Regions from separate parts of the Homo sapiens genome. Here region 1 is linked to region 2. The links are contacts of gene promoters, found by promoter capture Hi-C in human tissues and cell types (Jung and others, 2019). All regions are on one chromosome and are shown on one strand. The core of a region is centred on a gene start or on the middle of the fragment in contact, and the rest is flanking DNA. Distances in the headings are between cores, read along the strand shown.

The links. The method cuts DNA at HindIII sites, captures the fragments that hold promoters and counts their contacts. A contact is called where the count stands out against the background at its distance.
Region 1: a fragment that was not itself captured here is called in contact with the fragment with the promoter of ATP6V1C1 in region 2 in 1 of the 25 tissues and cell types used here (IMR-90 fibroblasts).

Annotation. Positions count from the first base shown.
Region 1 is chr8:102,959,063-102,961,762 of GRCh38, reverse strand. All of the region lies in intron 2 of MAILR (macrophage interferon regulatory lncRNA), which reads right to left. Among named protein-coding and RNA genes, the nearest start is that of ATP6V1C1, 61 kb to the left of the region's middle. RefSeq lists a silencer at 1-22. The HindIII fragment of the contact is 3,673 bases long and covers 1-2,700 here.
Region 2 is chr8:103,019,814-103,022,513 of GRCh38, reverse strand. It overlaps ATP6V1C1 (ATPase H+ transporting V1 subunit C1), which reads right to left and starts at 1,431. Exons shown (of 13, transcript NM_001695.5): 1 at 1,289-1,431. RefSeq lists an enhancer at 992-1,201. The HindIII fragment of the contact is 15,691 bases long and covers 1-2,700 here.

The DNA.
Region 1 (2,700 bases), core at 30-2,529, 61 kb after region 2:
TTTTGTAGGTACAGGCATCTACCCGTGGGAGGTCCTGCAATTTATACAGGAAGATGTGCATGTGATAGTGTCTGCAGATCCCATACTGACTCATTTTTTCCTGTTTTCCTCTTCCTTCTGTTCTTGGTGTCAGAACCAAGCACTTGTTACTAAAGGCTGGGACTGCATAGCCCAGGGCCTTTAACTCTATCGCCACCAGCAGGTGGGTGTAGCCGCAGTATCAAGGGAGCTGGGGAGAGCAGGGGAGGGGAGGGAAGGAATCCATTGCTCCTTCTCAGGTTTCCTCAATCTAAGCGCAAATCCTAGGAGGAAAGGTCCACTCACTTCCTCCCACACATGCTGGTATTAGCGCTGACCCTTCTTCTCCAGCCAATCTGGAATGCGGTGGTTATGAGTGTGGGCCCTCAGTCAGACCACCTGATTCAAACCTCGCTTTGCAGGGTGACCTTGGTAAGATTGCCAAATTTAGCAAAAACAAACAAATGCAAACTGGATACCTATTTAAATCTGAATGGCAGATAAACAATGAATTTTAGTATGAGTACATCCCATGCAATATTTCTACTAAGAGATTATTTATTATTTATTACATTTATCTGGGTGTCTAGTATTTTACCTGGCAACCTAGACCTCAGGCAAGTTACTTTACCCCTCTAGGCCCACATTTCCTTATCCAGAACTTGAAAATAATTGCACTGCCTACCTGAAAGTGTTGTCTTGAGGATTAAATGGGATAATGTAGAATGTTAGGGAAGTGCCTGCAGGCACACATTTGATAAGTGTTAAGTGGATATTCAACATAGTATGGTGGATATTCAGTATAGTATAGTATAGTATAGTATAGTATAGTATAGTATAGTATAGTATAGTATAGTACAGCACAGCACAGCACAGCACAGCAAAGTACAGTACAGTACAGTACAGTACAGTACAGTATAGTATAGTATAGTATAGTATAGTATATGCATGGCCTTGGGAGGCACACAGACCAGGTTCAAACCCTCCTCTGTCACTTGCCTGCATTGTGACCTTGGGCAAGTTATTTAACTTCTCTGCGCCTCAGTAATCATCTTCTACAGAATGGGGATAATTGTAGTCTTTACCTTATGATGTTGAGTGGAGTAAATAAGACAATACATGGAAATCAGCACAATGCCTGGTAAATGTAATAAATAGTATTCTACGTATTAAATAGTGATAAGAACATTATATAAATTGTTTACCTCCTCCAAGACCCTCCTTACCCCCTCCATCCACCATCTTTGTTGCAAAGCTTCTCTGTCCTATTCCAGCGGGCACTGATTTTTCCTTCCTCTGAATTTCTGCAGTCCTTGCTGATCTTACCACCACAGGAACCTTGATTATACTCTGCCCTGCACTGTTTGTTAACTATCCCATTTATGGATGCCTTTTCTCATTGGTCAAAACCTGGAGGCCTTGGGCTTCTTCTCCAGCTCCTCCCTTAACTGCTGGGCACCACTATCAGTAGATATCTGTTGCCTAACTTATTAGTGCCATTGTCATGGATTTGTGGGCCAAGAGAAAAAGTCAAACCTACCTATCCAATGACCTACTTCTTGAAATCTACCGGCAGGGAAAAAAGGTCCTGTTTAAAATGTTACTGTAGGCTGGGTGTGGTGGCTCATGCCTGTAATCCCGGCACTTTGGGAGGCTGAGGCCGGTGGACCACCTGAGGTCAGGAGTTTGAGACCAGCCTGGCCAACATGGCAACACCCCATCTCTACTAAAAATACAAAAATTAGCCAGGTGTGGTGGAGGTGCGTGTAATCCCAGTTACTTGGGAGGCTGAGGCAGGAGAATTGCTTGAACCCAGGAGGCTGAGGTTGCAGTGAGCCGAGATCGCTCCACTACACTCCAGCCTGGGTGACAAAGCAAGACTCTGTCTCAAAAAAATAAATAAATAATAAAATAAAATGTCAGTGTAGGTTTTCCTGCGCATGTAGAACCCTGGAGAAATAATACCAAGTGTCAGGTTTGCCACTGTCCTGAGCATAGTCAAGCACAGCATTAAGGGGCATGCTGTCCCTGGCCTGTGTCTAGGTTTCTTTCATGGGTAGGCAACTTCTCTCGAATCCTGCTATTGGTGCTTGAAACATTAAGATACTCAGCACAGGGCTACTCTATCAATGACAATGCATAGGAAACATTGCCTGACTTTAACAAGATACAAAAACAGGATTTTTTTTTTTTTTTTTTTTTTGAGGAGACAAAGTCTCACTCTGTCGCCCAGGCTGGAGTGCAGTGGTGCAATCTCAACTCACTACAACCTCCGCCTCCTGGGTTCATGCCATTCTCCTGCCTCAGCCTCCCGAGTAGCTGGGACTACAGGCACGTGCCACCAAGCCCGGCTAATTTTTTGTATTTTTAATAGAGACGGGGTTTCTCAGTGTTAGCCAGGATGGTCTTGATCTCCTGACCTTGTGATCCACCTGCCTTGGCCTCCCAAAGTGTTGGGATTACAGGCGTGAGCCACCGTGCCTGGCCCAAAAACAGGATTTTTTTTGGTACATCTGAAACATGATAACAATAGTAAAATCGCTATACCAGCGACACTCAACTTTGGCTATTAGAATCACCTGGGGAGCTTAAAAAGCTACCAAGATGCTGATTGATTTGGCCTGTGTTGGGGACCTGCATATCAGGAGTTTTAAAACCTTCCCAGGTGATTCTCATGAGCAG
Region 2 (2,700 bases), core at 182-2,681:
CCCCTCTGCTTGCCTGTAAGCTCTATAAAGACAATTTTCTAAACCCTACCATCAGCACTGTACCTGCATACAGCATGTATTCAGTACACATTATTTGCATGAATAAGTAAACGACTACCATTCAAAAGTCCTCGTTACCTGACTCCCAACTTTCTTTCCCACTTCTCCGCAGTGCAATCCACTGTAAAAGCTACTTCTGACTCCACCAGAAGCATTCCCTACCCCCATCTTCAGGCTTTCAAATCCTGTGGCTTTCCCTGCCTGTAAAATTATCCCCATTTCTCTCAACCTGTTCAAATCCTGAGGGCTTGCCAAGACTCAAGTTTTCTTTCCTCCAGAATATCTTCCCATAGTGCCAGTTTACACATGTGTCGTTGCTCCACACTTTCAAAGCACTTCGCATTCTCTTTTTGGTAAGTATACATAAACTGCATCGTATTTTAACGTGTCCTGTGTGTAGACTTTTCTCTCCAACGTTAGTGCTAACTCCTAAGGATAGACTGTTCACATCCCACCCGTTCCATTCCCAGAGCGGCGCTAAGTACTGGGCTCGCACTGAAGCATGTGATTTTTCCCTAACATACCAGAATTTTCCTCTGAAAAGAATACTAGCTTCCCCCTTACTCCTGTTTCTCAAGTGATTCAATATGCCTTATGTGACTCTCACCAAGTTCTTTTCTAGGGGTTTGTTTTGTTTTGTTCTGTTTTGTTTGCCTACCCTCCCCCATTCTACTAAAAAATAGTTGAGTTCTCTGGATTCCTGTTCTTTCTCATTCCTAGAGGGACCTTGTGTACTCTGTGAGGGTTCCTTGCCTGCAGTTAGGGGCTCCTAGGCCTTTAAACTGTCATCCCACCACCCCCGACCCCCGACACCCGCGCCCCCCCCAACACACACCCAGTGAAGGCACTTGCGCTAGCTGTGACCTCACACACACCACTCCATAGCCTCACCTGGACCTATCACTTCATTCCCCTCAATCAATCAGGCGGCGTGCATTCCTACCCAAGAAGAAAGATCCCAGACCGCTGTATCTCTCCTTTCTGCCTGTCATTAACTACCCACGAGAGCTCTTTCTCTTTTTCCCTCCTTCTCTTCCTTAGAGACGGAACCTAGGCCCAAGACGGTGAATTGGCGCCGAGAAACCAGACACAGCCACCCAGCCAGCTCCAGCTCCAACGCCACGGTCTCTGCCCCCGCACCCACCCGCGTCCCTCCCAGGCAGCGACCGGAGCTCATGCTTCGGCCTGACCAGGACTCCCCATCCGGGGAGAGCCATCGCTCACTGACCCAGGAAGGTGTCAAACGAGGAAGTAGCAGCAGTAACAGGTACCGAGGCAGACAGCCTAGCGGACGCTATCGGCTCAGCGATCCATCCCTTCCCGACCTAAGCTCCGGCCTCACGGCTTCCTCTACCCAAGCGAACACAGAACAAGTCACGTGCCAGCCCAGCAGTCAGCTGACCGCGGCGCGCGCTGCTCCGCCTACGCCCGCGCCACTGCGCAGCCGCAGCCGCTGCCACTGCCGGGCCTTGGGAGAGGGGCGGGACTAGGAGGCTACGGGGCGGCAAGGGGACCCTATATTCGGGGCTGATCGCTGTTGTTCCAGAGTGGGTGGGGTTTTCCGCTTCTTCCAGTGTTGCAAGTGGCGTTTTGTCCACCACTTGTAAACGTCAGCGCCACTGCAGGTTTCTGCGGGTCAGAAATTGTCTCCAACCCCCTACAAGGGCTTCTCCACTTGGGGTTTTCTTCGTCAGCTGGGTTTTCTACCTAGTATACTGGCTAGTAGTTCATTTTAGCAGATTCACATTTTCCTGAAGTCCACTTAGACTTAATTTCATAAATGGTCCATGGAGCATTTACTGTGCGCCAAGCACTGCGCTCGTTCTTAGGATTGCCTACTGGAGAGAATCACTCCTTGCCACGAAAGCGCCTCATAGATAGTTGAAACCACATTAGATAGTGGGAAACCAAAGGTTTTAGGACAGAGGCATAGACAGGGGAAAGCATCTCCTTTGGAGAAAAATAGGTAACAAGCTCCTCCCAGGAACCCTGCTTATTTCATTAGCTTGGGGAGATAGATAGTAATGTCCTAATTTAGAACACAGAGTTTTAGAAGTAGTAGAAATTTTGAGATGTTCTAATTTAATCCTTTTAGATCTACAGATGAAGAAAGTGAGGGCACGGAGTTGTTCAGCGCAAGGGAATAGATACCAGGTGTTGAATCCAGGCTCTCCTACTTACTAGTTGTGTGACCTTACTCCTCTGAATTTCAGCCTGTTCACATGCAAAGTGGTGGTAATAATACCTTACACAGGTATTGTGAGGATTAAATGAAGCCTGTGGTTAGCACAGTGCCTGGTACATAGGAAACAACCAGTAAATGGTCGTCATTATTACTATGTATTATAGGACCCAGGTTTTCTGACCTATACTATGCCTTTTCTGCTGTGTCCCCCTACAGAAATTCACCACAGAATTTCTCAGAGCCTCAGTATTAGGTTGGACAGAAAGTAACAACCACCAGACTATCCCCAACCTGACGCTTTCACCAGTTTTGGATGAAGTTCATGCAATTACAATAACCAGTTCTATAACATGGCTTCAGAAACTTATCAGAATTCCAGAGGCTTTTATCTGCCATCACGAAATGAGCCTAAAGGCATTTTTTTTTTGGTTAGGTCCACTAAAACTTTCTGCCAT